Regions from separate parts of the Homo sapiens genome. Here all the other regions are linked to region 2. Evidence: promoter capture Hi-C in 16 types of primary human blood cells and fetal thymus (Javierre and others, 2016). All regions are on one chromosome and are shown on one strand. The core of a region is centred on a gene start or on the middle of the fragment in contact, and the rest is flanking DNA. Distances in the headings are between cores, read along the strand shown.

Evidence for each region. Contacts are between HindIII fragments. The CHiCAGO score rates a contact against its expected background, and 5 or more counts as called.
Region 1: a fragment that was not itself captured here is called in contact with the fragment with the promoter of THAP11 in region 2 in 2 of 17 cell types (naive CD4 T cells and total CD4 T cells); the score reaches 5.5 in naive CD4 T cells.
Region 3: a contact is called between a fragment that was not itself captured here and the fragment with the promoter of THAP11 in region 2, in 1 of 17 cell types (naive CD8 T cells). The highest score is 5.3, in naive CD8 T cells.

The regions. Positions count from the first base shown.
Region 1 is chr16:68,208,631-68,212,090 of GRCh38, reverse strand. All of the region lies in intron 9 of NFATC3 (nuclear factor of activated T cells 3), which reads right to left. It also overlaps the pseudogene RPS12P27. Among named protein-coding and RNA genes, the nearest start is that of MIR6773, 23 kb to the left of the region's middle. RefSeq lists an enhancer at 878-947. The HindIII fragment of the contact is 3,143 bases long and covers 1-3,006 here.
Region 2 is chr16:67,840,477-67,843,671 of GRCh38, reverse strand. THAP11 (THAP domain containing 11) reads right to left here and starts at 1,352. Exons shown (of 1, transcript NM_020457.3): 1 at 1-1,352. The coding sequence starts at 1,117. The coding sequence ends at 173. The region is part of intron 1 of CENPT (centromere protein T); the gene reads left to right. RefSeq lists enhancers at 29-78, 519-678, 390-1,136, 1,589-1,638 and a silencer at 1,159-1,338. The HindIII fragment of the contact is 11,152 bases long and covers 1-2,189 here.
Region 3 is chr16:67,565,562-67,568,925 of GRCh38, reverse strand. All of the region lies in intron 1 of CTCF (CCCTC-binding factor), which reads right to left. Among named protein-coding and RNA genes, the nearest start is that of CTCF, 4.7 kb to the right of the region's middle. The HindIII fragment of the contact is 4,800 bases long and covers 1-3,364 here.

The DNA.
Region 1 (3,460 bases), core at 186-2,685, 370 kb before region 2:
ACAGACTTGAAGGTATAGAACATGTGATTACAGGTACAGCAGCATAAAAATCATAAGAAAGCATCCCAGGAACAAAGCAAGAGGCCAACACACACTATGGGAGCTTTTGTGAGTGGATGAATTCAGTGGTACTTTCAGATTGTGCTTTACAGAAACTTGCAGTGCTCCAGAAATCCTTCTAGTTCCTTGAAGCACTTTCGTGAGCTCCAAAATATACCTCATTCATCTCTCCTGATCACAAGAACTTTGACCAAACATTTACAAAAGTGTGCCGGGCACGGTGCCTCATGCCTGTAATCCCAGCACTTTGGGAGGCCAAGGCGGGTAGATCACCTGAGGTCAGGAGTTCGAGACCAGCCTGGCCAGCATGGTGAAACCCCGTCTCTACTAAAAACACAAAAATTAGCTGGGCGTGTGGTAGATGCCTGTAATCCCAGCTACTCAGGAAGCTGAGGCAGGAGAATTGCTTGAACCTGGGAGGCGGAAGTTGCAGTGAGCTGAGATCATGCCATTGCACTCCAGACTGGGCAACAGGGTGAGACTCCGACTCAAACAACAACAACAACAACAACAACAACAAAAAACATTTACAGAAGAAGAGTTTCAGCCGGGCACAGTGGCTCACGCCTGTAATCCCAGCACTTTGGGAGGCCGAGGCGGGAGGATCACAAGGTCAGGAGATAGAAACCATCCTGGCCAACATGGTGAAACCCCGTCTCTACTAAAAATACAAAAATTAGCTGGGCATAGTGGTGAGTGCCTGTAATCCCAGCTACTCGAGAGGCTGAGGCAGGAGAATGGCGTGAACCCGGGAGGTGGAGGTTGCAGTGAGCTGAGATCGCGCCACTGCACTCCAGCCTGGCGACAGAGCGAGACTCCATCTCAAAACAAAACAAAGAAAAAAGAGTTTCGATTCTTTTGAAACTCTTAAAAAGATTAAAGAAAAGGAAACACTTCCTAACTCATTATGAGGCCAGAATTTACTCTGACACAAAGCCAGAAAAAGATACTATAAGAAAAGAAAAGGCTAGGCACAGTGGCTTACACCTGGGAGGCTAAGGTGGGTGGATCACGAGGTCAGGAGTTCGAGACCAGCCTGGCCAATATGGTGAAACCCCATCTCTACTAAAAATACAAAAAAATTAGCCGGGCATGGTGGTGCGCACTTGTAGTCCCAGCTACTCGGGAGGCTGAAGCAGAAGAATCGCTTGAACTGGGGAGGCAGAGGTTGCAGTGAGCCGAGGTCACACCACTGCATTCCTGCCTGAGCGACAGAGCAAGACTCCATCTCAAACAAACAAAAAAACAAAAAAACTACAGAATATTCTTTATGAATATAGATGCAAAAATCAACAAAACACTAACACAATTCAGCAGCATATTAAAAGGATGATACATTAAGACCAAGTGAGTTTTATTCCCAGAATGCAAGGATGATTCAACAAATGAAAATCAATTAAAGTAATATGCCAAATTAGTTGAACAAAAGAAAAAAAAACATACTCCTGACTGGCATGGGCAACATGGCAAGACCCTACCTCTACAAAAATTAATTTAAAAACCACATGATCATCTCGATAGATGCAGAAAAGTGTTTGTAAAAATTCTTTTATTTTTTTTGAGACAAGGTGTCACTCTGTCACCAAGGCTGGTGTGCAGTGGCACAATAATGGCTCACTGCAGCCTCTACCTCCCAGGCTCAAGCAATCCTCCCACTTCAGCTTCCCAAGTATTTGGGACCACAGCACCTGGCTAATTTTTTGTATTCTTTTTTTTTTTCTTTTTTTTTTTTTGAGAAGGAATCTCACTCTGTCGCCCAGGCTGGAGCGCAGTGGCATGATCTTGGCTCACTGCAAGCTCCGCCTTCCGGGTTCACGCCATTCTCCTGCCTCAGCCTCCCGAGTAGCTGGGACTACAGGTGCCCGCCACCATGCCCAGCTAATTTTTTTGTATTTTCAGTAGAGATGGAGTTTCACTGTGTTAGCCAGGATGGTCTCAATGTCCCGACCTCGTGATCCGCCCACCTCGGCCTCCCAAAGTGCTGGGATTACAGGCGCGAGCCACTGCACCTGGCCATTTTTTGTATTTTTAGCAGAGATGGGATTTCATGTTGCCCAGGCTGGTCTTGAACTCTTGGGCTCGAGCAATCTGCCCACCTCGGCCTCCCAAAGTGCTAGGACTACAGGATTGAGCCAACATGCCCAGAGTGAGTGTGACTGTGAGTGTGTGTGTGTGTGTGTCTGTGTGTGTGTTGGGGGGCAGGGGGGTTAGCCAGAGTTTTATTCGTTCATTTCTTGCATTTGAAGTACTTCAACTACTACACAACTGCAACGAACCACTTTACGGGGTTTCCCCTCTCTGTCAATTTTACAGAGACCTAACCATTCCCCCTAGCTTCTTGTCATCAACCTTAAGTAGGTTGATTTGGTGTTCAGCACAAAGAACCTCTATGAACTTGACATAGGCTCATCACAGTTGGATGCAAACACACAAAAGATGGGCCTGACCCTTCAGCAGCTTTGCAAATTCCACGTGCTAGGCCATCATGGGTGAGGACAGTCTTCAACACCTCTTGTAAAGCAGTATTAACAGCCACCACACCTCCAGCAGCAACACCTTCCGTGGCCATGGTGGTGGTCTACGGGTGAAGCTGAATCTTGAATGCACCCAAGCCTCTGCCTCCACTCAACTCAGCAGTGGCAGGGAAAGAACTCTTTTTCTTTGAGACGGTCTCACTCTGTTGCCCAGGCTGGAGTGCAGTAGCATCCCAATCACGGCTCACTGCAGCCTCCACCTCCTGGGTTCTAGCTATCTGCCCGCCTCAGCCTCCCAAAGTGCTGGTATCACAGGCGTGAGCCACCGTGCCCAACTCATTTATCAAAATTCAATGCTCTTTCAAGATGAAAACATTCAATAAACAAAGAATAGAAGGAATTTCCTCAATATGAAAAAGGCCATATATGAAAAACTGTTAGTTCCTATCATTATCAACAAAGAACAAAAGCTTTCCCCCTAAGATCACAAACAAAGCAAAGATGCCCACTCTTTCACCACTTCTACTAGCCTACCACTAGAAGTTCTAGCCAGAGCAATTAGGTTAGAAAAATAAATAAATACATAAAGCCCATCCAAATTAAAAAGGAAGAGAGAAAATTATCTCTATTCACGAATGGCATGATAGTATAAACATAAAACTCTAAAGAATCCACACAGACAAAAAAATGTTAGCACTAACAAATAAAGTCACCAAAGTGGCAGAATATAGAATCAACACACAATATTCAGTTGTACTTCTATATACTTGGAATGAAAGGTCCAAAAAAAATTAAGAAAACAATTCTTGTTTTGGGGTTTTTTTTTTTGGTTTGTTTTTGAGACGGAGTCTCAGGCTGGAGTGCAGTGGCATAATCTTGGTTCACTCCAACTTCTGTCTCCCAGGTTCAAGCGATTCTCCTGCCTC
Region 2 (3,195 bases), core at 103-2,602:
TCCACTTCAGGAGGAAACAATTGAGGATGCCAGGTCACCAGCAAGAGAGTCCAGCTGCCTTAAGCCTCAGTACTGTCAACCAGTGCCCAGGAGTATAGAGGAGTTCAACAATGGCCTGCGGTCCCCTGGCTGGATGGGGTCTGGGAGTCCAGCAGGCTGCCGGGGCACCAGTTCACATTCCGTGCTTCTTGCGGATGACAGCCATGGCAAGCAGCCGATCCTTCTCACGCAGTTCTTCGCGCAGCTTGGCCTCAGTGAGACGCAGGTGGCGAATGCTGCCTTTCATCTCTTTCATCTTCACTTCCATCAGAGCCAGGATGTCCCGCTGCTCATTCAGCTTGCGCAGGAGCTCCTCCTCCGTGGTGCCTGACGACAAGGAGTACGAATGGTCGGAGCCAGTATCAGGGAAGCCCTCTTCCCCTACCACCACCAACTGGGGGCCCATAGGGCACTCGGCAGCCTCCAGCCCTGCGGTAGCAGCCTGTAACTCCGACGCGGCGGCCGCAGCGGCTGCGCCCTCTGCGGCTGCAAACTCCACTTGCACTGTGAGATCGATGGGCTTCACGTCTTCTCCAGTGGGAGTGATGGGCGCCGGCTGTACGGATCCCGGAGCCTGACTGCTGTCTACAGTGGCCTGAAGGGTGAGAAGCACGGCCGCGGAAGCAGATACCAGGTTCGGCTGCAGCTGGGCAGTCTGGGCAGTGGAGGCAGAGGGTGAGGACTGCTGCTGCTGCTGCTGCTGCTGCTGCTGTTGCTGCTGCTGCTGCTGTTGCTGCTGTTGCTGCTGCTGCTGCTGTTGCTGCTGCTGCCTGCGGCGGGCGGCCGCGGCCCCAGCGGGTCTGCGCGCTACTTTGCGCTCATTGACGCCGCGCAGCGGGAAGATGGTGGGGACGCGTACCGTGTAGGTCTTGCGGCCGCCCTGGAAGTGAACGCTGCAGAGACGGTGGCCTGTGGTGGGCTGGAAGGTGGAGAAGCACCCACTGACGCCGGCACGCGACACGTTCTTGAGCCAGAGGCGCCGCAACTCAGCGTCCTTTGGAAACGTGTAGAAGTGCAGCGCCTTGTCCCGGTGCGAGTTGTTGTAGCAGCCTGGCACGCAGCACGTAAAGCCAGGCATGGCTGCGCCGCGCGGCCCGGCCCGGCCCACCGGCCTCCTGCGCTCTTCGACGGCCCAGTGGCTACGCCGCCGCCCGCCCCTCGACGGGCGGCGCCGCGCGAGGCCTTGGGTGGTATCCCACCACTGCCGCTCGGCGCAGCCGGCCCGCCCGGCGCCCCGTGCCCAGAATACGCTTCCTGCCGGCCCGCGCCGCGCCGCCCGCCTGGCTGCCCGCCTGCGCTCGGGAGTGGGCCCCGGGGACGCCGCGAAGGACCGCCTGAGAAAGAGACTACGCCCCCCACAATGCCCCGCGCCAGAAGCGGCTCACTTCCGGGGCGGGTGTGTGCGGATTCCTGCCGCCTTCCAAGGCACTGCGATAGCCTCCGAAGAGCAGATTCTTTCCCCAGCCCGTCTTGTCCCCGGCGGGCGAGAGAGGCGTATTAGGTTGGAACGCTGTCGCCTGGACTGCTCCTCACGAGGACCCGAATCCTGATAGGGGCGTGGAGCGGGGCGGTGCGCGCCTCACCGGTGCGCAAGCGCGGTGGGTATATGCCCACGGAGACTACAAATCCCGTGATGCCTCGCGCTGAACTAGGCGCCTTCCCTCCGAAGCGCCGCCTAAGGGAAAGATCGAGTTACTGCGGACCAGGATTCGGGCGAGGTTGTGCTGTTTGCCAGAACCAGTTCCCCAGCCCCGAGCCCCTTTGAGTCGACGGCATTGCTGCAGCAGAGGGAGACGAAACCTGGGCCTCGGCGCCCCGAAGGGTCTCAGGAGCCCCTTTCTTTGCGTTGGGGACTCTCTCCTGATTCAGCTGCTGCCTGCGTTGACTAACTGATCTAAACAAAGTCTCCAGTAGACGCCTACTATGTGGCTGACACGGTGCCGGGAGTTTGCGGGAGTCAGACCGACTGGGCTCCTCTCTTGGAGCCTGACTACCTAGACGGATAAGCGTCTGTCTTTTGGATAATAGATCTGAATGCACGCGAATGGATGTCTACTCACAAATAGTAATCGCTCCAAAGGAATTAACAGGAGAGCAGAGAAATGGGGGGGAGGTGGTGGGGGCCAGGAATAAAAAAACGAACGAAAGCTTGGGTAGGGAGAAGTAGCCAATTCTTGTCCCAGGAACCAGTCTGTAAGGCCACATGGCAGAAAAGAGCTAGGCTCCGCCATTAAAGAGCCTGGAAAGGGGTGGCCCGGGTAGGGCCAAGCGTAGGAAAATACCAAACTGGGACATGTTAAGGATTTGGGGTTTTATTCTGCAGGCCACTGAGAGCTATTAAAGGATTTTATGGGAAAGGATTTGCATTGTAACAATACACCTCCCCCCACCTCAACTTATTTGAGGGAATCTTTTTTTTTTTTTTTTTTTTTTTTTTTTGTAAAGGAGTCTCACTGTGTCGCCAGACTGGAGTGCAATGGTGAGATCTCGGCTCACCGCAACCTCCGCCTCCTGGGTTCAAGCAATTCTCCTGCCTCAGCCTCCGGAGTAGCTGGGACTACAGGCGCATGCCACCATGCCCGGCTAATATATATATATATATATATATATATATATATATATGTATTTTGTATTTAGTAGAGACGGGGTTTCGCCATGTTTCTCAGGCTGGTCTCGAACTCGTGAGCTCAGGCAATCTGCTCGCCTCGGCCTCCCAAAGTGCTAGGATTACAGGCGTGAGCTAGGATCACGGCGCCTGGCTGGGGGAAAATGTTTTAAAGAACACAAAATGTTGTGGAAAGCCAGGGAGGGGCCAGGCAGTTCTCCAGGTGAATTACCTGCAAACTAGCCCTCCTTTGCCGAGTTCTTCCTTCTCCCAATTTTTTTTAAACTTTTACTTTAGGTTCGGGGGTACGTGTGAAGGTTTACTACATAGGTGAACTCGTGTCACCGCGATTTGTTGTACAGATTATTTCATCACCCAGGTATTAAGCCCAGTACCCAATAGTTATCTTTTCTGTTCCTCTCCCTCCTCCCGCCCCCCGCAATTAGACCCCAGTGTCTGTTGTTGTCTTCTTTGTGTTCATGAGTTCTCATCATTTAACTCACACTTGTGAGAATATGTGGTATTTGGTTTTCTGTTCCTGCATTAGTTTG
Region 3 (3,364 bases), core at 528-3,027, 280 kb after region 2:
GCAGAGGTTTCAGTGAGCCAAGATCACACCACTGCACTCCAGCCTGGGCAACAGAGCAAGACTCAGTCTCAAAAAAAAAAAGAGTTTCCAAATAATATAGCCAGGTGTGATGGCTCACACCAGCAATCCAGCACTTTGAGAGGCCACAGCAGAGGACTGCTCGAGCCTAGGAGTTCAAAGCCAGTCAGGGCAACATGGCAAAACCCCGTCTCTACAAAATACATAAAAATTAGCCAGGCAGGCCGGGCACAGTGGCTAACGCCTGTAATCCCAGCACTTTAGGAGGCCCAGGCGGGTGGATCATGAGGTTAGAGTTCGAGACCACCCTGGCCAACGTGGTGAAACCCAGTCTCTACTAAAAATACAAAAACTAGCTGGGCATGGTGGTATGCACCTGTAATCCCAGCTTCTCAGGAGGCTGAGGCAGGAGAACTGGTTGAACCCGGGAGACGGAGGTTGCAGTGGGCCACCATCGCACCACTGCACTCCAGCCTGGGTGACAGAGGAAGACTTCGTCTCAGGGAAGAAGAACAACAACAAAAAAAAGGCCAGGCATGGTGGCTCACGTCTGTAGTCCCAGCACTTTGGGAGGTCGAGGTGGGTGGATAACCTGAGGTCATGAGTTCCAGACCAGCCTGGCCAACATGGTGAAACCCCGTCTCTACTAAAAATACAAAAATTAGCTCGGCACGGTGGCAGGCACCTGTAATCCCAACTACTCCCGAGGCTGAAGCAGGAGAATCACTTGAACCTGGGAGGCCGGGGTTGCAGTGAGCCCAGAACATGCCACTGCACTCCAGCCTGGGAGACAGAGTGAACTCCATCTTAAAAAATATATATATATACACGTATACATATATATGCCAGGCATGGTGTTGTGTGCCTGTGGTCCCAGCTACTTGGAAGGCTGAGGTGGGAGGATCGCTTGGGGCAGGTGGGGGACAAGGCTGCAGTGAGCCATGATCACACCACTGCACTGCAGTGTGGGCAACACAGTGACAACCTGTCTCAAAAAAAAAAAAAAAAAAAAAAAAAGCCGAGTATGGTGGCTCACACCTGTAACGTCAACACTTTGGGAGGCCGAGGTGGGAGACTTGCTTGAGCCCAGGAGTTCAAGACCAGCCTGAGCAACATAGTAGGATCCTGTCTCTACAAAAAAATAAAAGAATCAGCTGGGCATGGTGGCACACGCCTATAGTACCAGCTACTTGGGAGGCTGCAGCAGGAAGACTGCTTGAGCCCAGGAGTTCAAGGCTGCAGTGAGCTATGATCATGCCACTGCACTCCTATCTGGGCAACAGCTATGATCATGCCACTGCCTCAATCAAAATGTATTAAAAAAAAAAAGTTTCCAAGCAATTTGGCACATGAGGTACATCTTCTAAGAGGAAATCCATCTCACAATTAGCTAAACTCCACAAAACTCACTAATACTTAGATGAAGCTAAAGTCTCCTCTGTTGAGAGGCAATTTTTAGTAACACAAATAGGTGATTAGCATATTTAGTCCAACCAACACTTCCATACTGGAGTCCATTATTATTACCAGCATACCTCAAAGGGAATGAAATTTTCTACCCCTGAAAATTCCAAGAGTGACCAAAAACAAGGATCAAGTGTGAAAGAATACCATCCTAACCCTCACCTTTGGACTGTATTTTGGCAGTCTATATGCAATGCCACAACTTTGCATTCAAATATTAAATCACTGAGAAAATGCACAAAGATACTAGCAGGAAAGATACGAAGACAGACTACAGAAAGTTTACAGGTGTTTAAAAAAAATGGGCTGGACACGGTGGCTCACACCTAATCCCAGCACTTTGGGAGGCCAAGGCAGACAGACTGCTTGAGGCCACGAGTTTGAGACCAGCCTAGGCAACATGACAAAACCCCATACCTAGAAAAAATTAGTCCCAGCTACCCAGGAGGCTGAGGTGGCAGGATCATTTGAGCCAGGGAGGTGGAGGCTGCAGTGAGCTGTGATCACACCACTGCACTCCAGCCTGGGTAAAAGAGAAAGACCCTGTCTTAAAACAAACAAACAAACCCCACAGGCCGGGCACGGTGGCTCACGCCTGTAATCCCAGCACTTTGAGAGGCGGAGGCGGGCAGGTCAGGAGATCGAAACCATCCTTGCTAACACGGTGAAACCCCGTCTCTACTAAAAATACAAAAAATTAGCCAGGCGTGGTGGCAGGCGCCTGTAGTCCTCCCAGCTACTCGGGAGGCTGAGGCAGGAGAATGGCGTGAACCTGGGAGGTAGAGCTTGCAGTGAGCCGAGATCGTGCCCCTGCACTCCAGCCTGGTAGACAAAGCGAGACTCCATCTCCAAAACAAACAAATACCCCACAAGAACAACAAAACAAATGTGGTAAGACTAATCTTTTTTTTTTTTTTTTTTTTTTTTTAATTTTGAGACAAAGTCTCACTCTGTCACCCAGGCTGGAGTGCAACGGCACGATCTTGACTCACTGCAACCTCCGCCTCCCGGGTTCAAGTGATTCTCCTGACTCAGCCTCCTGAGTAGCTGGGATTACAGAAACAGACATATGCCACCACGCTCAGCTAATTTTTGTGTTTTTGGTAAAGATGGGGTCTCACCATGTTGGCCAGGCTGGTCTCAAACTCCTGACCTCAGGTGATCCGCCCGCCTCAGCCTCCCAAAGTGCTGGGATTACAGGTGTGAGCCACCATGTCCCACCTACAAATCACATCAATTGAGAACCATGGTCTTCAAAGTTACACATTATTTGCCATTATTGTTCTTTTTAAATCATAATGCATCTGAGTTGTTTGAAGAGGGGCCTAATTTTTGGCAAAACAGTCAAGTCATCTGGAGCCAAGACAGGTAAATTAGGCAGACAGATGGTCTAGTTTAAAAAAATTAGGTGGAGTCTATAACGTAGATGATGTGGAATGGCTGTGACAGCAGCAGCATCCCTGAAGCAAAAAAAGCAGTCTCTAGAGGTGACTTTTGGCCAGGAGGCACCAGCCTGCAAGGCTCTGCCCAGGATTCCTCCCCAGGGCCTTAAGTCAGCCACAAGTGGCTTCCACCAAGGAACTCCCCAAGCCATTCAGAAGTCCCAGGTGAGTGCCCCCATTTGCGTGTGTACTTTAAAATAAAATCCTAAAGCTCTTAGAATTTGAATGCATCTTAAGGACAACTTCACCTCTTAAATTCTTACATAGGTTGAATGGATCCCGATAAAGTTAACCTTTACAACTACTCTTTTTTTTTTTTTTTTTTTTTGAGATAAGAGTCTTGCTCTGTTGCCCAGGCTGGAGTGCAGCAGCACAATCTCGGCTCACTGCAACCTCCACCTTCTAGGTTCGAGCGGTTCTCCTGTCTCAGCCTCCCTAGT